Regions from separate parts of the Homo sapiens genome. Here all the other regions are linked to region 2. Evidence: promoter capture Hi-C in 16 types of primary human blood cells and fetal thymus (Javierre and others, 2016). All regions are on one chromosome and are shown on one strand. The core of a region is centred on a gene start or on the middle of the fragment in contact, and the rest is flanking DNA. Distances in the headings are between cores, read along the strand shown.

Evidence for each region. The method cuts DNA at HindIII sites, captures the fragments that hold promoters and counts their contacts. A CHiCAGO score of 5 or more calls a contact.
Region 1: a contact is called between the fragment with the promoter of PHPT1 here and the fragment with the promoter of CLIC3 in region 2, in 7 of 17 cell types (M0 macrophages, endothelial precursors, total CD4 T cells and 4 more). The highest score is 7.7, in M0 macrophages.
Region 3: the fragment with the promoter of LCN10 here is called in contact with the fragment with the promoter of CLIC3 in region 2 in 2 of 17 cell types (endothelial precursors and M0 macrophages); the score reaches 5.9 in endothelial precursors.
Region 4: a contact is called between the fragment with the promoter of RNF208 here and the fragment with the promoter of CLIC3 in region 2, in 1 of 17 cell types (M0 macrophages). The highest score is 5.8, in M0 macrophages.

What each region holds. Positions count from the first base shown.
Region 1 is chr9:136,845,006-136,851,495 of GRCh38, reverse strand. It overlaps PHPT1 (phosphohistidine phosphatase 1), which reads right to left and starts at 2,087. Exons shown (of 3, transcript NM_014172.6): 1 at 1,906-2,087; 2 at 1,359-1,483; 3 at 472-741. The coding sequence starts at 2,065. The coding sequence ends at 649. AJM1 (apical junction component 1 homolog) reads right to left here. Exons shown (of 3, transcript NM_001080482.5): 3 at 2,695-6,490. The coding sequence ends at 4,151. RefSeq lists silencers at 1,766-1,845, 2,236-2,295, 2,476-2,555, 2,636-2,695, 2,916-3,145 and 1 more and an enhancer at 1,836-2,115. The HindIII fragment of the contact is 15,345 bases long and covers 1-6,490 here.
Region 2 is chr9:136,993,618-136,999,289 of GRCh38, reverse strand. CLIC3 (chloride intracellular channel 3) reads left to right here and starts at 2,722. Exons shown (of 6, transcript NM_004669.3): 1 at 2,722-2,779; 2 at 3,533-3,642; 3 at 3,723-3,848; 4 at 3,998-4,104; 5 at 4,185-4,360; 6 at 4,451-4,682. The coding sequence starts at 2,747. The coding sequence ends at 4,609. It overlaps PAXX (PAXX non-homologous end joining factor), which reads right to left. Exons shown (of 7, transcript NM_183241.3): 6 at 5,626-5,672; 7 at 5,314-5,524. The coding sequence ends at 5,485. The HindIII fragment of the contact is 14,896 bases long and covers 1-5,672 here.
Region 3 is chr9:136,741,246-136,744,975 of GRCh38, reverse strand. LCN10 (lipocalin 10) reads left to right here and starts at 2,036. Exons shown (of 6, transcript NM_001001712.3): 1 at 2,036-2,189; 2 at 2,956-3,095; 3 at 3,615-3,724. The coding sequence starts at 2,073. LCN6 (lipocalin 6) reads left to right here. Exons shown (of 7, transcript NM_198946.3): 5 at 235-336; 6 at 612-637; 7 at 834-959. The coding sequence ends at 314. RefSeq lists a silencer at 2,532-2,631. The HindIII fragment of the contact is 7,084 bases long and covers 1-3,730 here.
Region 4 is chr9:137,220,740-137,227,330 of GRCh38, reverse strand. It overlaps RNF208 (ring finger protein 208), which reads left to right and starts at 5,091. Exons shown (of 2, transcript NM_031297.7): 1 at 5,091-5,342; 2 at 5,593-6,591. The coding sequence starts at 6,119. CYSRT1 (cysteine rich tail 1) reads right to left here and starts at 2,157. Exons shown (of 2, transcript NM_199001.5): 1 at 2,098-2,157; 2 at 1,016-1,717. The coding sequence starts at 1,709. The coding sequence ends at 1,275. RefSeq lists an enhancer at 1-160 and silencers at 3,839-4,188, 4,499-4,548, 5,489-5,538. The HindIII fragment of the contact is 9,789 bases long and covers 1-6,591 here.

The DNA.
Region 1 (6,490 bases), core at 838-3,337, 150 kb after region 2:
AGGGACCTGGGAGGGGCCTCCAGAGTCAACGTGAGCCTGTGGGGTAGATGCAGCTGTGCGACCTGACCCTGGATACTGGTAGGCCCCATGGGGCTGGTCATGGAAGGAGCCTGCAGGTCACGGAAGGAGCCTCAGGGCAGACAGGACACTGGGGAGCCCTGGGATGGGCTCATAGGAGGGAGCACTGGTGGGCGCCCCAGGTCTTGGCCAGCCCGAGGGACCAGGCCCTGACTCCTCTCGCAAGGGCTTGCCAGACCTCCTCCAAGATGCCCTGGAGGACGATGGCCGTGGGAAGAGCAGTCAGGCCATCAGCGGGCCCCTTTATCAGACCCCAAAGGGCTGAGTGTGCACCGCCACTCCCTGGGGCCACTCCTGTGTTCCCCCACCCACCTGCTTTAGTTAGGGTCTGGGGGCCCCCGGAGGTGGTGACGCAGGGTGCAGGAAGCCAAGGACAGAGTTCAGAAGCCGGCAGGTGTGGCAACACGTTTAATTCTGTGGCCAGGCTAGCCTGTCTCCAAGGCCTGGTGGACAGCACGTCACCAGAGGCTGCCGCAGGAGCAGGCAGGGCCAGCCCTGCAAGAGGAGTGCAGGCAAAGGCGGGGGCTCTGAAGTGGCTGCTGGAGGCAGCAGGCCCCGGGCTGGGAGTGCTCAGTAGCCGTCGTTAGCCCAGGTGACCTCGTAGTCGGGGTACTTGGCTTTGATTTTCTCAGTTGAAATGGCGTGCTGGGCAGGACCATAGGCCTGGAGAAGAGAAGACGCCTGCTGGCACTACCTGGACCCTTCAACCCGATACCCGGCTCTGGGCATCCAGCCACCAGCCACACCAGAAGCGAGTGTGGGAAAGGGATAGGCAGTGCCTGGGGATGCCAAACCCACCATCCCGACCGCCCTTGGGGGCTCCCCTGGGGAGAGGCGACCTCCACAGGCAAGCAAACCTTGATGGTGGATCCTGGGGCCTGAGGCGCCCAGAGGGACGCACGTGGGTCTCATCTGCTGGTGGTTTTTGTGAAGAGCACAGGTGGGGACTCTGAGCTCCACCCAGGTACTGACTGCCTCTGGGGGCCCAGGGCCCAAAGTGCTGGAGGACAGCTAGAGCCCAGCAAGGCCTCCCAAGGCAGGGAGAGGAGACAGCCGGCCATGTCTGGGGGTGTCCGTCCCACCCCTCAGGTCTGGCGTGTGCTCCATGGGGGAATGCAGGAACACAATGGGCCCTGGAGGGAGGGCTCTGCCGCCGACCCTGGGAGAACCCCAGGAAGCCTGCGTGCTCAGCTGGGGCCACGGGTCAGGGCAGCAGGCTCAGGTGGGCCTCGAAGCTGGTACTGGGGCCTCCGGCAGGGCGGGACGGGGCTGCGGCTCACCATGGAATAGCCGTACACGTGAATCTTCTTGTCCTGACTCTGGTGGGAGATGCGCCCGCCGCCCAGACACTCACAGTCGCAGCCTTGCTTCTGCATGTCGCCCGACACTTTGTCGTAGATGTCCGCTGGGATGGGAGGGCGGCCTCAGGACGTGCCCTGGCCGCCCTTGGAGGCCGCGGGAGGAACTCCCAGCCGAAGGGGTCTGAAATCCCAGCTCTGAACAGCCCCTTCCCCAGGAGAGACGAAGCCCCTTGAGGCTGGGACAGGGATGAATGAGCGAAGGAGGGTGGAACCGGGGAGGGCGCGGGAACTGGGAGACTGCTGGGGAGGGTGTCAGGCCGTGTCACGCCCTTCCCGCCCAGGACCTCAGCCTGGGTCAAACCTAGCAGGGGCAGGACTCGGAGCAGAGCGCAGTCCGCTACGGCCCGCAGCCCCGCCCCCGCCCCGCCAGCCCCGCCCCTGCCTCGTCAGCCCCGTCTCCGTCCCGCCAGCCCCGCCCCCGCCTCGCCAGGCGTGCCCCTGGCATGCCCGCAGGTCCCGCCCTCACCATGGTACTCAGCCCACTTGTAGCCGCGCACGATCTCCTTGCTCTCTGCAGCCGGAGCCCCGGAGCGGGGAGCCGAGTGGACTCGGATCAGCACATACTTGAAGACGCCGTCGGAGTCGATGTCCACATCAGGAATGAGAGCGAGGTCCGCCACCGCCATGTTCCTCCTCCCGGAGTCCCCTCCTCCCACCCGACCCGGGGGCCGCTTGTACTGCGGGAGGCGGGCTCTGCGAGAGCGACGACCAATCCCGTCGGGGAATGCTTCCCAAGGCCCAGCGCCTCAGCCAATTGTACCGCCGACCGAGGCACGTGCTGACCAATCGCAATCCAGTTCCTTGCCGCCTTGCGGCTCCGCCAGCCCCGCTTAAAGGAAACGTGGAATCGGGAATGGGTGGTGATGAAATCCAGCCAACGGAGAAGTTCCTCTCCAGCGGGGTCCGGTGGCACCCTTGGAACGGGGCAGTTAGGCGGCCCGCGAGGCTGGGGCAACGAGGGAGGCCTGAGGGACTTGCCAGCCCTGACCTCCTGTCCCGCACGTAGTCCGAAGACCACCCTCCCCGTGGCCCCCACCGCCCAAAGGCCTCCCTCTCTCCCCCTCCCACCGCCCGAAGGCCTCCCCCCTCCCCGCTCTCCACCGCCCGAAGGCCTCGCTCTCCACCCCCTCCACCGCCCGAAGGACTCCCTCTCTTCCCCGTCCACCGCCCGAAGGCCTCTCCCTTTCTCCTCTCCACCGACCGAAGGCTTCCGTCCCCAACCCCGCTACCGGTACAAGGAGGCAACGGCAGCCGCTACATTCAAGTTCTATTTTACTTGGTTCGAAAGCTCTTGCCCCCTGGAAATTATTCCGGTCCAGGGGCGTTCCCGGCCGGCCCTCAGGGGTGGGGCCGAATGCAGAGGCCCTGGGGTAGGGGGCGCGGGGCGCGGCGGCGGGTGGGCAAGCGGGACGCCTGGCCGGTGCAGACGCGCGGGGACGAGATGGGCGTGCCGGGTGCGAAAGCAGGAGCGGAGGCGGGGGTGCCCAATTTCTCTCACTTGGTGCCCCCTCCCCTGGCTCCGAAGTAGGGCTGGGGACTCCAGGAGGGCCCTTGCGTTTGGCCTCCACCCCTCTCCCGCATACCCCACCCTCCAGAGAGCTCTGGGCGCGGACCAGGGTGCACTTGGGGGACAGGTGGAGGCCGGGCCGCCGGGCTTGCGCCTCCACGCCCGCAGTACGGCGTGCGGCCAGAGCGGGTGTGCGGGGACCTCTCGGGACAGGTCAAGCCCCCTCGGGTGGGCTTCCACGCTTACCAACTAGCTCTCTCCCTCACCTGCTCGCACCACGCTTTGCCCTCCAGGCTCCCACCTGGGAACGCCCCGTCCCTTGGTCCTTCCTCTCCTAGCCAGGTGTCAGCTCTGGCCAGGCCCAGGTGCTCTGCTTCCCCTGTTCAGGTCCCCTGCCCCTTCGGCTGGGAGACTTGCATATCGGCCTGAAGACCTCCCTGCGGTTTTTCCCAGCTCCTGCAGGGCCCAGACTGCAGCGGCTGGAGGCGAAGGGACGGCAGGGCGCGTGGCGTGGTTAGTGTGCTGGCTCCGACCAGCGGGAACGCACTGCGCACCGTCCGCCCTGCCCACCGCCTCGGCGGGACGCGCTCGCGCACACGGACGCACAGAGGTCGACCAGGGTGTTCTCCAGCGAGGAGGCAACACAGCCGCGGGAGGCGGGGCGGGGCGTGTTTAAAGTGACAGACTGGGCTTTGGTTACGTCGGGCTTCTGGACGAGGGGAAACCGGAGTCGGGGAGGCTCCAGCGAGAGCCCCGCGGACCGACGGGGACCGGATCTCTACGGGTGGGGTCTGTGCAGTAGTGACCCCTCCGAGTGAAGGCAGAGCTCGGCGGTCCTCAGGCCCACCCCGCCTCCCAGCGGGGAGCACCGAGGGCGAGGACCGACTTCTTCTGGGGATCCTCGAGGGCGAGCTGGGAGAGGGAGGAGGCCCGGAGGAGGGAGAGGGGTTGCTGGGGGTGGGAAGGCGAAGGGCCTGTGAGGAACACTACGGGGACGAAGGGCCGGGGGGTGGGGGCCTGGGCGGAGCTGGAGGCCGAACTGAGCGGAGCTTGGAAGGCTGGGGAATTAGAGGCGGGGCCTAGAAGAAGTCGGGGTGGGGCCCTGGCGGGGCTCGGGGGCGGCCCTGGGTGGGCCGGGCGGGGCCTGAGTGGGCAGGGCAGGGTTCGGGCCAGCGCCTGGGCTAGGCCTGGTGGGCCCGGCGCCTCACATGATGTCGTCCAGCAGGTTGGCGCTGGCCACCCAGTCGAGCGCGCGCGGCTCGGAGGCGGCCATGATCATGCACATGAAGGGGCGGCCGGTGCGCCGGTCCGTGGGGTAGATGGTGGTGGGCGTGAAGCGCCTGTTGGCCTCGACGAACTCGCAAAGCTGCTCGTAGACGCGCGGGAACTCGTGGCGCAGGAAGACGCCGCGCAGCCGCAGCTCGCGCTGGATGTGGATGAAGGCCACCTCGCGCGCGCGCCGGCCCGCCTCGCCGTCCTGATCCAGGCCCGCCGTGCCCGGCGGTGGCGTCAGGATCAGCGTCTCCATGTCGGGCTCGCGGCTCCGCGCCGGGGGCGGCCGCGCGGGGCTGCCGGCCGCCAGCGCTACCTTGGCGAACTTGCGCACTGTTGGCCCGTGGCTGCGTGGCGCGGGCGCGGGCAGGGCCGGTGTCCCCGGTGGCGCGGTGCCGGGTCCCACGGCCACGGACACGCTGAGCAGGAAGCACTCTGCCGGTTCGTAGAGGCGCCCAGCGGCCGCCAGCTCGCGCGCGTAGCTGCCCAGGGGCGCCGCGTGTGTGGCCAGCTCACGCAGCGATAGGTAGGTGGGGGATAGCAGCAGCCCCTCCAGGCCAAAGCGCAGGAAGTTGTCGGCCGAGCCTGGACTTGGGAAGCCCAGGAAGAGCACGCCGCGGCCGCGCGACAGGAAGCCGACACGCGCGATGCGCGAGAAAGCGCGGTGCACCGGGCCGCTGTCGCGGCAAAACTGCAGTACGTGGCGGCACACGCTGCCCACGCGGCCGTACACGCAGCGCGCCTTGTGGGCGTCCCAGTCCTCGCGGCGGCACAGGCGCGAGCAGTAGTAGGTGTAGCAGCTGTGGCAGGACTTGAAGTAGAGGCAGGCGTTGAACATGGTCTCGGTGCGCCGGCAGCGCGCATTGGAGCAGGTCATCAGGTCGTCCTCGTCGGCGCTGGGTTCGGGGGACGCGTCGGCCGCCTCTCCCGGGGCCGCGGGCTCCTCGGCGCTGCCGGCCGAGGCGGGGGGCGAGCGTGGCGGCGCCAGCGCGGGGGCCCCGGAGCCCGCGGGCCGCGAGTCCAGCAGTCGGCGCAGTTGGGGGCCCAGGCAGTCGGCCGCGGGCTCTGAGGCCTGGCCGGCGGTGGGTCGCGAGTCGATGACCAGGTCCGTGATGAGCTCGTCCAGCTGCTCTAGGCTCCGCTGGCGGCCAGAGGTGGGGCCGTCGGGGGCCGCGTGGGGAGGTGGCCGCGTGCGGCCCCCGGGCAACTCCCAGGCCCTGGCGCTCGGGCGCTCGGTGGCGCGCAGGTCATTGTCAGTGATGGTGATCTCGGGCGTCACGTACCAGTTGCGGCCCAGGCCCTCGCCCGCGCGGCCCTTCTCCGTCAGCGACGTCTCGGACAGGGACAGTGCGGCGTAGCGTCTGGGAGAGGTGGACAGGTTCACGACGACGGGCGGGCGCCGGCCTTCGGGGGACACGCCTCGCGGCTCCCGCACCTCGCGCCCCAGCAGGTTCTCGTAGCTGCGGCCGCGGCCCAACGGGTCTTCTCGGCGCGGCCCCGGGGCCAGAATGTTGTCCCAGGAGCGCGAGTAGTGGCGGCTGTCGGTGGCCAGCCGGGGCGGACTGGTGCCGGTGCCGCCGTGCCAGGAGGCGAGCAACGGGTCGGGGTCAGAGGGCGGCACCACTTGCAGGGTGCGGTACGGTCGCGGGCCCCAGTCCGCCCAGGCCGGGCTGCTGCGCGGGTGCGGGTACGTCCGAGCCAGGACGTCACGCTCGCGGTACCTTCCGAAGTCCTCCGTGTAAAAGGGGCGGGCGGTGGAGTGGGCCCGGGGCTCCTCGGGGACATAGCGGGGCCCGTAGGGCAGGCCGTAGGCTCGTGGAGCCTCCCCATAGTAGGAGCGGGAGGGCGGTTCCTGGATTGGGAAGGTGCGCACCTCTCCTGCGTAGTAGCCGCCCATGCGCCTTGGACTGGGCCCCGAGAGCTCCTCGGACGGATAGGGCCTGGGGTAGTAGGCGTCGAAGGTTGGGCCGGGACTGGCTGCAAAGCTGCCCCGGAAGCCTTGGGGCTCCTCTGTATAGAAGAACTGGGTGGGGCCCGGCGGGGTGGTGAAGGGCAGACTGCGGCGCTCGGCGTAGTCCCGGGGCCCAGGCAGGGGCCCGTCGCAGTAGAACGCCCGGGGATCCGCACAGTATGAGTCGCTGGGCGTCGGGGTGCGCGACAGCGCCATGTGGCGGGGCCCGGGCACCGTGAGGCCGTGGAACTGCGGGGCGGGGCGGGCCCAGTGCGCGGCCTCGGTGGGCCCGCAGGACCGCGAGCCCCGGGTGGCGTGCTG
Region 2 (5,672 bases), core at 1,473-3,972:
GAGGCCAAGGTGGGTAGATCTTCTGAGGTCAGGAGTTCGAGACCAGCCTGATCAACATGGTGAAACCCTGTCTCTACTACAAATACAAGGAAAAAAAAAAAAAGCTCAGCGTGGTGACGTGTACCTGTAATCCCAGCTACTCCAGAGGCTGAGAAAGTAGAATTGCTTGAACCCAGGAGGCAGAAGTTGCAGTGAGCCGAGATTGCACCACTGCATTCCAGCCTGGGCAACAGAGCAAGACTCTGTCTCAAAAAAAATGTTAAAAAGCCCCTGTTTCCACATAAGGTCACATTCTTTATTTTTTTTCCAAGATGGAGTCTTGCTCTGTTGCCCAGGCTGGAATGCAGTGGCACTATCTCTGCTCACTGCAACTCTGTCTCCCGGGTTCAAGCACTTCTCCTGCCTCAGCTTCCCGAGTAGCTGGGATTACAGGTGCCTGCCACTATGCCTGGCTAATTTTTGTATTTTTAGTAGAGACGGGGTTTCACCATGTTGGTCAGGCTGGTCTCAAACTCCTGACCTCAGGTGATCCACCCCCCTCGGCCTCCCAGACTGCTGGGATTACAGGCATGAGTCACCGTGCCCGGCCCATATAAGGTCACATTCTGAGGCACTAGGGGTTAGGACTCCAGCCTAAGAATTTAAATTTAAGGGGACACAAGCCACGCCATTTACCTAATCTCAGGCCCTCCCTGCAGTGGGCATGCATGGAGTCACCTTTTCCGTCCTTCTCCCTGGACACAACTGGAGTCTCCCATAGACAGGGTGGTGGCCGTGCCACGGAGCCACGCCACGCCACGCCACGCCACGCAGTGGGGCAGCCAGCACTCACTTGCCCTTCACAGGGAAACCGGCCGGGTGTGGCAGCTCGCGCCTGTAGTTCCAGCACTGTGGGAGACCAAGGCAGGTGGGTCACTTGAGCCCATGAGGTGGAGACCAGCCTGGGCAACATGGCAGGACCCTGTTTCTAGTAAATAAATGAATTGATTAAACCATAAAAAAAAAAGGAAGCCACCGGGCTGATTCCCAGGTGGCGAGGGCACAGGGGGGTGTTGGATGGCCACTGCCGCTCCACAGTCCACAGCCCACGCCCACAGAACGCAGTGGGGCCGCTGCAGCGGTGAACCGAGTCTTGTTGGTTTGTTTCTTGAGACGGGCGTGAGGTGAATGGTCTTCCTGTGTCTTGTTTTCTTTTTCCTTCTGAGCCACCGGTTCACGGCCTCTGTCCGTGCCGTCATTTTTCCTGTGGGTTTGTGAGGGTGCGTCTGTCGGTGTTAAAGACACAGGATGCCGGGGCAGCAGAGGGGGCTGGGGGCCTGGGGCTTCTCTGTGGTTGGCCATTTGCCTGCCAGGGATGTGGGAAACCAGCAAGCGGAGCTATAACCACAGTGTCCAGAAAGAGCTGAAATACTAGGGCTTGGAATCGAGGTGGAGGCCGGATGGAGGGAAATTGAGGTTCAGGACACCAAAGGATGGGGCAGCCACATGGTATTTCCAAGGCTCTGTGTCCAGGAGCCCCGACTGGCGTGGTATCCAGAGAAGCATCAGGCTGGGCTGACTGGGGCAGCACTGGAGTGTGTTCCACCGGGGACGGATGAGGGGCCCGTACCAAGGCCCTGGGGAGAAGGTGAGCAGGAGAGCAGTGCCACCTCAGCTGCCCTGTCCAGGCTGGTGAGGCACCACACCGCCTGGGGGAGGTGTGGCCAGGCCAATCCTGTGGGCACCCCAGGTCTCTGGGTGGAATCTCCCCTCGGTGTACCTCCCTGGGGCTGCACCCTAAAGCGTCAGGGCCAGGTGGGAGGAAGGCACAGTTGGCGACCCCAAAGGGCCAGACTGAACTGTGGGTTCCAATCACGCCAGGAGGCTCAGCGCAGGCTCACACCTGTGGACCACCACCCTCCCCTGGCCTCTTTCTTCCAGCCACGCAGGCTGTGGCTTCTAACCCCTCTCCTGCTGCTTCTTTTTAAAGGTTAAGGGGTTGGGGGTAAGAAACCTGCGCTGAGCGCCAGTGGGAGGGATGGGAGGTGGGGTGGAGACCTGCACTGCCGGCCAAACACCAAAGCCAGGCTGGCCTCCCCGCCCTGTTGCGGGCAGGTCTGGAATTTGAGCCCTGCCCTGAGCGGGGAGGGCCCTGCCTGACTGCTCCGTAGCTGGGAAGGGGCGGCTCCCCCAGGTGGGCTTATCACCCTCCCGATGCCCTGGTGCTGCAGATGGGGAACTGAAGCCAGGCTGGGCAGGCCATTTCTCCTGCTCACCCACACCCACTGGCTTTCTGGGCTGGGAGCCCTGACAAGGGGTATTTGCGGAAGGGAGAGCCATAGGGCAGGGTCTGAGCTGGGTTCACGGTGGAGGTGGTCCTGACCCAGAGCCGCCCCCTTCCCAGGTGACACCCCCTGCACCCTTCTGGCCTGTAGGCTCTCCCTATGCCCTGCCCCCTGGTCTCCACCCACCACGCTGGCTCCCAGCACACTCAGTACCGGGTGGGCGGATCTCCGTGCACACCAGACTCAAGTCCAGGGCAGCCCCCCACACCATTCCGCCACCCTGAGGTCACACCCTCAGGCTCAGACACCCCGGGGCCGGGCTGGCGTTGCTCAGGCAGCTGGTTCTGCGCGCTGGGCAGCTTCATCTGCCCGCCTAGGTGGCTCCACGGGGCGGGCCCCTCGGCCAGGGAGGGCGGGGCGCACAGGGAGACTTAAAGAGCTCCCCAGGTCCCCACCCGCGCCTGACCGCGGCAGCTCCCACCATGGCGGAGACCAAGCTCCAGCTGTTTGTCAAGGTGCAGGGCGGACTCAGCTGCGGGGAGGGTGTCTGGGAGGAAGCGCTTTTCTGGGCTTTGCTTTCTGTGGCAGGCTGTGGGGTGGGCCTCCCAGTAATGTCTGAGCCCCTTCCTGTGGGTGGCTAGGGGGACTCAGGCAGCCCTACAGAGGCTGAGTAAAGTGGGACCCAGCGAGTCACCCAGAGAGGGGTCAGTGGCCCTGGTCCTGCTCCCAGCCTTGGCTCCTGGGCCCAGCCCAGTCTTCTGGAGGAGAGCTCCTTGGTGGGGAGGTACCAAGCAGGCTGCCAACAGTGGAGCTTACGGTCGGTGTTCCAGGATGGGGGGTGCTGGGCCAGGCAGCCCCATCAGCTCTCAGGTCGGGGACTGGGGTGGGGGACTGATGTGCTGTTGGCCACAGTGCCCAGTCTCATGTGTGAATCACTCAGAAAACAGCTTGTGAGGCCCACCCCACCCCTGCAACCAGCTTTTGGGGACTGAGCCCAGGGGCCTGGCCTCTGTCCAGGCTCTGACAAGATTCCAGGGGCCAAGCCTGCCCCAGGCCTCAAGGCTCCCAGCAGCTCTGCCCCCCTCCCCACGTTCTGGGGACCAAGTCAAGGGCCCTCACTGGGCACTTGGAAGTCGCGCCGACCAAGCTGGAGCCCTGGCGTCCCTCCAATCCCACTGGCAGTGGGAGGCGGGTCCCGCCCAGCCTGGCGGCAGGATGCCTGGGTCTGCTTCCAGCCCTGACCCCCCACCCCCGCTCCACCCACCCAGGCGAGTGAGGACGGGGAGAGCGTGGGTCACTGCCCCTCCTGCCAGCGGCTCTTCATGGTCCTGCTCCTCAAGGGCGTACCTTTCACCCTCACCACGGTGGACACGCGCAGGTGAGGCCCCATCCTGTGGACCCCCGCCTGGCCTCGCACACTGGTGGGCCGGCCTCCTCCCACCCCGCTGCTGCCCGCAGGTCCCCGGACGTGCTGAAGGACTTCGCCCCCGGCTCGCAGCTGCCCATCCTGCTCTATGACAGCGACGCCAAGACAGACACGCTGCAGATCGAGGACTTTCTGGAGGAGACGCTGGGGCCGCCCGAGTGAGAGCCCCGGCAGGGTGGGAGGGGAAAAGAGGGGGGCCCAGGGAGGACGCGCGCAAGACAGAGCCCAGGAAGGCGCTGTGGGGGTACTGTGGGGCCGGGACGGGGCTGCCCCCAGTCTAATGGAGTCCCACCCCCTCATCCCGCAGCTTCCCCAGCCTGGCGCCTCGTTACAGGGAGTCCAACACCGCCGGCAACGACGTTTTCCACAAGTTCTCCGCGTTCATCAAGAACCCGGTGCCCGCGCAGGACGAAGGTGAAGCGGGGTCAGGGGGTCGGGTGCCCAGGCGGGAGGGCGCCCTGGGCCTGGTCCTCACCGCGCCGCCTGCCCCCTAGCCCTGTACCAGCAGCTGCTGCGCGCCCTCGCCAGGCTGGACAGCTACCTGCGCGCGCCCCTGGAGCACGAGCTGGCGGGGGAGCCGCAGCTGCGCGAGTCCCGCCGCCGCTTCCTGGACGGCGACAGGCTCACGCTGGCCGACTGCAGCCTCCTGCCCAAGCTGCACATCGTCGACGTGAGCACGGAAGGTGGGCGGGCGGGAGGGTGACCGCGGCGCGCCTGGGGGACGGCAGGTCCTGACCGCGCCCCGCGATCCTGCCCGCAGACGGTGTGCGCGCACTTCCGCCAGGCGCCCATCCCCGCGGAGCTGCGCGGCGTACGCCGCTACCTGGACAGCGCGATGCAGGAGAAAGAGTTCAAATACACGTGTCCGCACAGCGCCGAGATCCTGGCGGCCTACCGGCCCGCCGTGCACCCCCGCTAGCGCCCCACCCCGCGTCTGTCGCCCAATAAAGGCATCTTTGTCGGGAGTGAGGGTGTCCTGACATCTGAAGGGCCAGAGGTCTCGGGATCACTTCCCATCCCCAAACCCCAGGGTGGGACGCTCAGCCCGATAGCCCAGAACCACAGGGGCAGGAGCGCCGGGGGTCGGGCCGGTCCCATCCTCCACGCTAAGAAGGCGCAGACTCCAGGCCTCCTGCAACCGGTGGCCTCAGGGATCTCCAGGACCGGACTGGGCTCCCAAACCAGTCAGGCCGGGGTGGGGCGGGGTGCCCCAGGTGGATGGGGGCTGGCACATTCCTCAATCCTGTCCCGGGGCAGGCGCTCCCCTCCCCGCAGGGCACTTCCAGTGTCTCAGGGTCTACACGGGACTTCTGTCTGCATCCTCCCACGGGGCTCCGTGCCCTACCTGGGTGCGGCCTGGGAGGGTGGGAACAAAGTTCTAAGCCTTGGGGAGCCCTGGCCCTGCCTGGCTGGGCCCCTCTCAGCTCCTGGGCTGGCAGGGCTGGAATAGCTGGACGGTCTGAGAGTGCTCACCTCCCTCCGGCCCAGCAAGGAAGTCTCCAGGGAGCTGAGAGGCTGCAGCATCTGTTCACATCCTGTGGCCCTACACCCAGAACACAGGCCCAGGGGTGTTCCCTGATCCCTTCCCAGGCCAGTGCCAGGAGTCAGAGCCCCACCAGAGCCTCCAACCAAGGGAGCTGTTTATTTGACAGGGAAGGAATTTGAGGAGCCGTGTTAGTCCTGGCCCAGGACAGGCAGGTGGAGGTGGTGGCGGGGGGTCTCTGATGGGGGCCTCAAAGACTGCCTCTCCCCTCATAGGCGGACTCCCCGCGGGGCCACGCTTGTGCTGCACCTTCAGGTCTCATCGAAGTCCACGCCACCAGCTGGTTTCTTACTGGGAGGGAAGAGGGGTGTCACTATGGCACTATGGTGTGGAGAAAGGGGTGGGGTCCAGGATTGGACCCTGGGCGCAGGAAGGGGGCTGTGGGAGGGTACCTCTTGAACCCGGGGTTGATGAGCGACTCTCCTGGACACCGCCTCCT
Region 3 (3,730 bases), core at 787-3,286, 250 kb after region 2:
GTGAGTGGGCCGCTCGGGGGCCATGTGGGGAGCTGTGTGGTGGGTGGGCCGCACAGGACCACATGCAGGCCAAGTTCCCCCACCTTGAGGCTCGCTGCACTGGAGGTGGCTTTGGAAGGACCGGGGCCAGCATCCCAGGGCAGGTGGCCTCCTTCCTGACCCTTCCCAGCCCCTCCCCGGCCCCTCCCCAGCTCTCAGAGGTTGCTTCCCCCTGCACTGCCCTGGTGCCCCCAGGTCTGACGGAGACAGCCAGCCAGGAGGCCATGGGGCTCTTCACCAAGTGGAGCAGGAGCCTGGGCTTCCTGTCACAGTAGCAGGCCCAGCTGCAGAAGGACCGTGAGTGTCCACCGGAGCAGCCTCGGGGGAGGCTTGGGGCAAGTTCTGGAGCCCACAGGGCGTGATGGGGTGACAGAGACCCTGGGGTTGATTCTGGCTTCTGCCTGACTCAGTCGCCCTGAAGGAGTCAGGCAGGCTGAGGGGGTCTTCACCTGCCCCTGCCCAAAGTCAGGCCTGGGGGTCTTGTCCCCACGGCAGGCGAGTCTTGTGGGTGGGGCCCTGGGGTGCTGGGGGGCTCAGTCCTTTTTCACAGCCAGTCTTGCCTCCCCTTCTAGTCACCTGTGCTCACAAGATCCTTCTGGTAAGCCGCCATCCTGAGCCTCACCCTGGGCTCTCTTGGGGGAAGGGGGTGGGGGAGGCCACCCTACGCACAGTGGGTGGGAGGACCCTCTGCCCAAGCCCACGGGGTTCATGGCTCCACTGTCTCTAAGGCAGCTGAGGGTGTGGAGGAGCCTCCATGGTGGGCTGGGCCCCCTCACACTCCTCTTGGTTTTCAGTGAGTGCTGCGTCCCCAGTAGGGATGGCGCCCACAGGGTCCTGTGACCTCGGCCAGTGTCCACCCACCTCGCTCAGCGGCTCCCGGGGCCCAGCACCAGCTCAGAATAAAGCGATTCCACAGCAAACCAAGGATGCTTTTGACTGGGGGCCAGCCGGGGAATTGCGGGGAGGATGGCGGGGGTCGTCACCAAGGGCCAAGCCACAGAACCATAGAGCCAGCTGCAAAGAAGACGCGTGCCCAACCCAGTCCCTTGCCAGAGCCCCTCTGGGTCTTCAGACACCCAAACTCAGGCCCGGGCTCAGAGGCGGGGGCTGGTCAGAGGACACAGCCTGGGAGGAAGCCAGCAGTGAGCTCCACCAGGACCGCAGCTGGGGTGCCAGAGGCTCCAAGGACTGCCCAGGACAAGAGAGAGGTGGCTGGTGGGGCTCAGAGCAGCCCCTGACTCCCCAGGCTCAGGCTTCTCTGGGCTGGGGTTGTGTCTCTTGCCTGGGCAGGGGCAGGGACCCCAGACACCTGAGCCTGCAGGTCCTCCTGTGTTCTGATGGGTGTGGGGGGCTGCGCTGCCTGCCGTCCTGGGAGAAGCACAGGCCATGGGGGTCTCGGGGCTGGATGGGGGGCTGGGGACTGTGTGAGGCTCATGCTGGAGTGAGGCGAGGTGCACACAGATGCCTTGACCTGCAAGGCTGGGCATGCACACGCATGCACATGTGAGCACACACCCACACATGCACACACACACATTCATGGGCACGGGCACACAGCCCCGGCCCGCCCTTCGGCACCTGCTCAGGTGCTTGGTGCCAGGCCCTCAAGAAGGTGGTGGGGGCTGTGTGTGTGGCTGCCGCGCAGAGCTCACCATGTCCACATCTGCCCCAGAAGGGCCACGACCAGCCCTTTGCCTGTCACCTGGGAGGTCTAGGATGAGGGCCAGGGCTTAATGAGTCTCAGGGGCACACACAGTGACCCCAGGCCGGGCACTGAGGGCAGGAGGGTCCTGGGGCCTCAGAGGGGCCTCTGTCTGCCAGGGCAGCCCAGGCCAGCAGTGACCACCAGGTGGGGCAGTGCCGGCTTCCCTGGAGTGTCTGGGGGTGGTCCCTGGGCGGGGAGAGGGTAGCAGAGCCCAAGGCCACACCTGTTGCCTCCCTCCGCTCCCTCCCCTCCCTCCTCTCCCGACACAGGCTGGCGGCTCCAGAGAGGTTTAAACACTGGCCTTGGCGGCTGAGGGAGGAGGGTGAAGATGAGGCAGGGGCTGCTGGTGCTGGCGCTGGTGCTGGTGCTGGTGCTAGTGCTGGCTGCAGGGTCCCAGGTGCAGGAGTGGTACCCCAGGGAGTCCCACGCCCTCAACTGGAACAAGGTGAGCCATGTGCCACTGGTCCCTGAGCCGGGCGCCGGCTCTGGAGCTGGAGCAGGCTCCTGCACAGTCTCCCGGCAGCCGCCCAGGAGCAGGGCTACCAGCAGTTCCAGGCACGGGCGCTGCCCACCTGGCCTCTCCCACTGCAGCCTCCAGCACAGGGGCCCCGCAAGTTGCAGGGCAAAGGCAGGGAGCCTCGAGGGGGTTCGGGGGCCCAGGGGGGTCAGGGAGGGCCAGGGTGGAGGGGCCCAGAGAGCTGTGGCCGAGGAGGTCGGGAGACGCCCAGAGTGCAGAGTGGGTGTGGAGCAAGCGGGGCATATTCTGTAGCGGGAGGGCCCGGGCACCTGCTGAGTGAGCCGTGGGAGCAGCACTCATTGGCACGGCGGTGCCCAGGGCGCTAGGGTTGGCAGCAGGCAGAGTTGGGGGCCGGGGGCCGGCAGGAAGGGAAGTGGCCGAGCAGTACCCAGCCCCCAGGAGGCCATGTGGGAAGGAGCCGGGGCCTCTGAGGTAGGGGGCCTCCCACCTGCTGGCGCCCACAGCCCAGCCCTTTGCTGCCTGGGGTCCCTGACCAGCCGGGCACCTGCTTCTCTGCAGCCCTGCTCCAGTGGCCAGGGCTTGAGTGGCCGGGACCGAGGCGGCACCTGGGCGGAGCTGGGACTCCGGCTCACAGAAGGGTCATTTGTCTCCTGGGTTCTCTAGCTGGGAACCTCGGGGGTGGGGACAGCCCCCGGTGGCAGCTCCTGTCCCCGCCCACACATCCGCTGCGCAGTTTTCAGGGTTCTGGTACATTCTGGCCACTGCCACTGATGCCCAGGGATTCTTGCCGGCCAGGGACAAGAGGAAGCTGGGGGCGTCCGTGGTAAAGGTGAACAAAGTGGGCCAGCTCCGCGTGCTCCTCGCCTTCAGACGGTGAGTGGGCAGCGCCCCCCAGGCAAGGGTCTCCCCTTCCAGGAGGAGGGAGCTGCCTCGGGGCTGGAAAGGAGTCTGGGAGGAGCCTGTCTGTCTGGAAGTTCCACAAGAACCGTCCCCCCACTTCCTCCCCCTAAACTCAGAGGAAGCCACCTGCAGCCCCTGGGACCCCACATGGGTGGGTGTTGGGAGGAAGCTGCCTGCAGACCTTGGGACCCCACATGGGTAGGTGTTGGGAGGAAGCCGCTTGCAGCTCCTGGGCCCCACACGGGTGGGTGTTGGGAGTTTCTCTCGTGCCGTGGGACAGGCCCCAGTCCGAATTGGAAAATCCTCAAACCACAGAGCCTCAGATTGACACGAGTTGGATAGTGAAGCAAAAAACTGGGGACCTGGGGCCCCAACCTTCCCGGGTCCCACGGGAGCAGGGGCGGGACCGAGACGTGTGGGTGGGGCTCGGTGGCTGGCAGGCGGGAGGAGGGGTTCCCTGGTCTGCAGCCTGAGCCCCCGCCTTGGCCCCAGGTTGAAGGGGTGCCAGTCCCAGGAGGTGATCCTGAGGAAAGACGGGAAGAAGCCGGTGTTTGGGAACGCCTGTGCATACGCGGCGGGCCCGAGGGAAGGACAGGAGGGAGGTGTGC
Region 4 (6,591 bases), core at 3,842-6,341, 230 kb before region 2:
GGGGCCAGCAACGGGGCAAGGCGGGGAGCCTGGCACGCTAAGTCCTGGCACAGGGTCAGGGCAGTGACCCATCTGTCCCACGCCTGGAGACCTCTGCATGCCACGCGCCTGCCCTGCCCTGCTGTGGAGCTGGTCACCATGCGTCAGGGAAGGGCTGGCATGGCGTGAGGACCCGTCTGTCCTGCGTGGCCAGCTCGGCTGCCACCTCCTCGCCTTGTCTCTGCCCTGCCCGGAACACCAGGGCGCCCCAAGCTGGCCTCAATGCTCACTCCCTGCCTGGCATCCTGGCTTACAGTGGTGAGGCAGTACCTGCGCAGAGCAGCCTAGCGCCTGGTGCTCAGCCCCAGAGAGGCCCCCACCCTGCTCAGCAGACCAGGAGACGGCCCAGCACCCACGGCCCCAGCCTCCTCCTGCCTCATCCTCAAGGCCTGGTCCAGGCCACCTCCTCCCGGAAGCCCAGGCCCCGAGGCAGGACAGGAGGTGTGCAGGAATTAGATATTTCCTGGGAAACTAGAAAAACATCCCAGCTGAGGTTGGGAGGTGAATCACCAGTGGGCAGGGCGTGGTCCTGGCTGTCTGGGCTCTCCTGTCCCAACCTTCCACTCCCTGAAACCTGCAGCACCTGCTGCACCCACCACCCTCTTGTCGACACGCTCCTTCTCTTGGAGGCCTTTCCTGGGGTCCCCCCAGTTCCATGCGCTGTATCCTCCTGCTGTCCGACCCATGGACTGACCCCAGCTCACAGTCTCAGTCTCGGCCCCAGGGAGCGCAGGTCAGCTCAAATCCAGACCTGGCTCAGCTAGGGCTGTGGACACGCTGCAAGCCCTCGTGCAGTCTCTGGGCAGACCCGGGACTTGCAGGCCAGGGGAAAGTGTGGACGTCATGAGGCAGTGGCATCCCTGTCCTTGCAGTGTCCACAGTGACTGTGTGTGTGTGTTCTCGGGTCCACATAAAGGGGCAGATGCCCTGTGTCCAGCTACAACCCCCTCCCAAAGGAGCCTGCAGCAAAGAAGAATTGCTGGGAGGAAGATCACCCTGCTTTATTGCCTGGGCCTTAAGGTAATCAGGGGTGTCCCTCTCCAGCCAGGACCTGGGATTCCGTTTCAGGAGCTCGGGCTGAACGGCCACCTTCCTGGTGGGTCTGAGCCCCAGTGCCTGGTGTGAAGGGGCAGACGCCCATGACAACAGCCACCCCGCATGTCCCGGCATGTCCCGGCACTGTGTGAGCCACATTTGCTGAAGTCTGGGTCCTGGCCCTGGCAGGGTGGGCTGGGCTAGGAGATGACACAGCAGCAGCAGCTGTGGCAGCGGCAGAAGGGGGGGCAGTGGCAGCAGTGGCAGCAGGGGCAGCAGCAGCAGTGGTGGGCGATGTCATCCCCGCGCCCCGCGGGCGGAGGGCCAGCGTAGGTCAGTCCGGCCTGGCGCTGACTGCTGCTGTAGGGGTTGCCAGGCTGCTGCCAGGCCTGCTGGTTCTGGATGGGGGCAGCCCCCTGGTTACCCTTGGCGCCCTTGGGCCCTGGGACCTCGGTCGGCTGCAAGAGGTGGGTTGGCTCTGGGGCACAGGGCCCCACTGGCAGGGGCTGCATCTCCGAGGATGAGGAACAGGTGGAAGCCACCTCTAACTGCTGCCCCAGGTCAGGCCGCAGGTGAGCCCGGGGGATGCTGATGTGGGCATATGGGTTCTTGACGACCATCTCTTGGGGGTCCATGGTCCAGCCTGCAGGGGTGGGCAGAGAAGACAGACATGAACTCAGTGGAGTGGGATGGCTGCCCACGAGCCTGCGGCCCAGGAAAGCCCCCACCAGGAGCAGCGTGCCTCGTCCAAGCTCAGCATCCCCAAGGCATCAGTGCCGGGGTGCCATCACCTCCAAATGTGTGTGCAAGGCTAGTGTCATGGGTGTGAGCCAAGTGTGAGCAAGCAGCAAGGGCCGGTGTCTCCCAGCTGCCACCCCTGCCAGGGATCCTCCCCCTCCCCTGGTGGCATTGGTCCTGGGATGGAGCTGGGAATGGGGTCGGGGAGGCTGAGAGATGGGAGAGAAGGGGGCTGACCCTGCAGTGCCCCTGAGTTCAGGGCAGTCCCGGCGGCCAAGGGCTTACCTGTGGTGGCAACACGGCAGTCTGTCCTCTCGGTCTTCTGAGCTCTAGGTCCCAGTGCCTGAGTTGAGCGACTGGCAGCCGCCTTTTCCCTCCTTGGGAGGGGCGGGGCCATGGGGCGGGGCTCAGAGATGGGGTTCCCAAGATCCCAAGAGGCCCCAGCAACTGGAGCACGACAGCTGGCCCAGCCCTCGTCCTCAGGTGGGTGGCAGCCCAGGCCTGGGCTCTGAGGGGCACTGCCAAACCAGTGACTCAGCCCCTCACATCCGGGGCATGGCCTGGGCCCTAAAGGGCATCTGCAGCTTGCCTGAGAGGAGGGCAGGAGGTGAGCCTGAGGTCACGGCTCTGGAAAGGAAGTGGGGTGAGGCCCTCAGATTCCCGGGCCTGCAGTCCCCAGCCATTGCTCACACACCTCAAAGCCCCGGCGAGGCAGGGCTTCTAAGCCTCTGAGCCTCTTCTTAGCAGAGACCAAGATGCTTGAGAGCCATTGGCTCTTGGAGGCTTTCTGCTTCTTTTCTGAGATGGAGTCTTGCTCTGTTGCCCAGGCTGGAGTGCAGCTGCGCGATCTCGGCTCACTGCAACCTCTGCCTCCCGGGTTCAAGCGATTCTCCTGCTTCAGCCTCCCGAGTAGCTGGGATTACAGGCAACCACCACCACGCCTGGCTAATTTTTTGTATTTTTAGTAGAAACAGGGTTTCACCATGTTGGCCAGACTGGTCTCCAACTCCTGACCTCAGGTGATCCGCCTGCCTTGGCCTCCCAAAATGCTGGGATTACAGGCGTGAGCCACCGCGCCCGGCCGATTTTTGAGACAGGGTCTCACTCTGCCATCCAGGCTGGGGTGCAGTGGCATGATCTGGCTCACTGCGGCCTCAACCTCCTGGGCTCTAGTGATCCTCCCACCTCAGCCTCTTGAGTAGCTGGAAGGACTACAGGTGCACCACCACGCCGGCTAATTCTTTATAGAGATGTAGGTCTCACTATGTTGCCTAGGCTCATCTCAAACTCCTGGACTGAAGTGATCCGCCTGCCTCCACCTCCCAAAGTGCTGGATTCCAGGCGTGAGCCAGCGTGCCCAGTGGCTTTTCTGCTTTTTTCACTGATAAAAAATGTTTGATTTGCACGTTTTGTCACAGGTCTTATCTTACAATCAGTGACACGGGCTTTAGACACTACTGACATTTTTAGCTCATTTCTCAAACTGCAGTTACCCTCTGGCTGGCGGGCGTGGGGGCCACACGCGCCCCCCCAGCGTCCCCACCTTGGGCCCCCCGCCTCCAGCCGAACCCAGGCTCCATCTGCACCGGCGCAGGCAGGGGTGCAGCGGGCACTGGCGAGTGCCGCGGGGACGACCCACGGCAGTGGGGCCCTTGGGGCCCAGGGGAGCACCAGGAAGGGCGGGTTCCAGTCAGACGTGGCCTGTGTAGGGCCAGTCAGACCGGTCGGGACATGAGTTCAGGCAACCCGGCCCCGATTTGGGGAGAACTGGGTGCTCCTGGGGACCCAAAACTTGAGAGGCCGGCGACGGAAGTCCACTGCGCAGGCGCCGGAAGTCCCGCCCACCTCCCTGCCTGCCACTTGAGTGGCGCCTATGGCGCATGCGCAAACAAGGCAGGAACCGGCCGTGGAAATATTATTGCCCAGAAGCCCACGCGCTCCGGGGTTTCCCGAAAGACCCGGTTCGGATGTGACCAATACTCGGCTTGGGGTTCTCCAGCTCTGAATGGCGGGTCTGAAAAGGCCTGGCCTGGGGGGCGGGGCCTCGTGGCGGGGGCGGGATCTCATCCCCTACGGGGTGGGGTCTCGCTGAGGGGGCGGGGCCTGCGGCCTGGTGCTTCCTCGGGCGCACGCCGGGTCGGTGAGCAGAGTCTGCGGCGGAGCTGGGCTCCCGGCCCTCCCCAGGCCCAGGCTGCCTCAGTTGCCCCACCATCTTGCCAGGGCCCCGTAAGGACCCCTCCAGCAGCGCCCCTGTCACCCGCACACCTCTCCCTATTGCTCTTCTGAGTGACACTCGCCCGAGGCCCCACAGAGGGGCCAAGCCAGACCCTATGCGCAGGGCTGCTCCTCCAGCCTGTTTTGCCCACGCGAGCTCCCGCACCAGCGGCACCGTCCCCTCTGGGCTCAGCACTCTGCAGGCCCTGGGGCTCTGCCTAGAGCAGGTGCGGTCTGGCCAGTCCAGCGGAGAGAGGAGCTGAAGGAGGCCAGGATGTCCAGGGCCAGGTGCGGGGCCAGAGCTGGTCACAGCGTGGCAGCGGAGGCCCTCGAAGCCCTGGTCCCCTGCCTCACGGTGACCAGCAAGCCCGAGGGCTCCACAGGCAGAAGGCGGACCCAGGAGGGCAGGGAAGCCCCGGGTGAGGAAGCGGAGAGGCCCGGGCCTGCGCGCTGGAGTGCCAGGGGCCACCCTGTCCGGGCAGGTGCGGTCCTCAGGGCCGCCTCCACCCCGCACTGGGCTGCCAGCCTGTCCTTCGCGCACTCCCACCGGACCCGTCCGTCCACCGGCCTCGGCCTTCTGATCCGCTCCGCCCGCCCCGCTCTTGCCCCTTAGAGTCACAGCGATCTATCTGAGCTACGGCACCGGGCACAGGCGGAGCTGGAGGACTCGGGGCCTTCCCATGGGGCGGGGGGCCGGGGACGGGGGAAGGCACCGGTGGGCCCTGGAACCAGCTCCCCTGGGATCCTCCGCGCAGGTCCCCTCCCTCTCACTCCAGAGTCCTGAGGCCTCCTACTGTGAGGGAGGAGAACAGCCGGATTCTCCTCCTGAATCTGGGGGGGCGGGGGCTTGACCAGGACCCAGGATCAGCCTGGAGAGAACTGGGGGCGACGCGGGGGTCCTGCCCCCCACGCAGTCCGCGGGCGAGAGCGACGCCGGGAGCGGACCGAGGGGCGGCCGGGAGGCTGGCCCCGCCCCGCGGACCCCGCGCGGGTCCCCAGACGGGGGGTGGCGCTGCGGGCGCGGGCGGGCGCCGCGCGCACTGCGGTCCCCGCGCCTCCGCCGCAGAGCGCGCCACGCTCCGCACGCACCTGCCGCCGTCGCCGCCGTGCCGAAACCCGCGCCCCGCGCCCCACGCCCGCGCCCGCGCCCCTCGGTGCCGCCCGGGCCCCGCCATCGCCTGAGGTCGCTGCGGCCGCCGCCGGAGCCGCCGGAGCCCCCCGAGCTGCCGGGCCGAGGCGCGGGCGCCGCGTCCGGGCCTGCCTTTGAGACAACCTCTGCGGCGGCGGCGCGCGGCCGGGACGCCAGGCTGGGGCAGGTGAGCGCAGGGGGCGGGGGCCGGGGGCGGACTCAGCGCCCCTCCCCACGCGACGGGGGTCGGCCCTCGGGAAGGTGCGTCTGGCCTTGGAGGCGGGGACCGGGGAGGGGGTTGGGTTCTGAGGCCCGCGGAGGTCGGGATCCCACGGCTGAGGTCAGGGTCAGAGGTCGGGCGCCCGGTCCTTTGTGCAGGGCGAGGGCTAGGGTGGGGGTGGCCGGGGCACTGCCCTCATGCCGTCTCTCACCTGCAGCTCAGGCCTGGCCCAGGCCTCGCCTCTGCTCCTGCCGCGGAGCCTGCCGCCCCGGTCCTCCTGCAGCCAGCGCTTCGGCTAGCTGCCTTCCCTGGGCGCCCTGTCCTGGAGCCATGGGGCCCACCCAGCCCCTGCCTGCCCCGATGTCCCGGCCCGCGGCCTGCTGACCTCGGCTGCAGGGGGAGCCCCCCCCGCGCCCCCTCGCCAGCCTCAGCAGCCAGAGACCCTGGGTGAGACCCTGGGCCAGACCCCCAGCCCAGGGCAGCCTCCCACCCCTCCCTGCCCCCGCCTGCCTCCCCCTCCCCCACCCCTTCCTCCTCCTCCCAGGACTGGACCAGAGAAGCCACTGTGGCCACTGGGGGGGGCCCTGCACCCCCAACTCTCGCCGGCTGTCCCTAGGAGTCCACGGGCCGTCCGGGGCCCCCCCCAGGCCTGGCGGGACCAGGATGCTGCCCTGTCACCTGCCCCCCAGCCCCACACAACGCCCCCACCCACCCGAACATCCAGTCTGACTGGAGACAGCCGGATGCCCTCTGACCCCGGGCCCGAGGCGGGCAGTGGCTGGCCGGGCCTCCTCATGTCCTGCCTGAAGGGTCCCCATGTCATCCTCAAGATGGAGGCCATGAAGATTGTCCACCCTGAAAAGTTCCCTGAGCTACCGGCTGCCCCCTGCTTCCCGCCTGCTCCCCGGCCCACCCCAACTCTGGCACCCAAGCGTGCCTGGCCCTCAGACACAGAGATCATTGTCAACCAGGCCTGTGGGGGGGACATGCCTGCCTTGGAAGGGGCACCCCATACCCCGCCACTGCCACGGCGGCCCCGTAAGGGAAGCTCGGAGCTGGGCTTTCCCCGCGTGGCCCCAGAGGATGAGGTCATTGTGAATCAGTACGTGATTCGGCCTGGCCCCTCGGCCTCGGCGGCTTCTTCGGCGGCGGCAGGCGAGCCCCTGGAGTGCCCCACCTGTGGGCACTCCTACAATGTCACCCAGCGGAGGCCCCG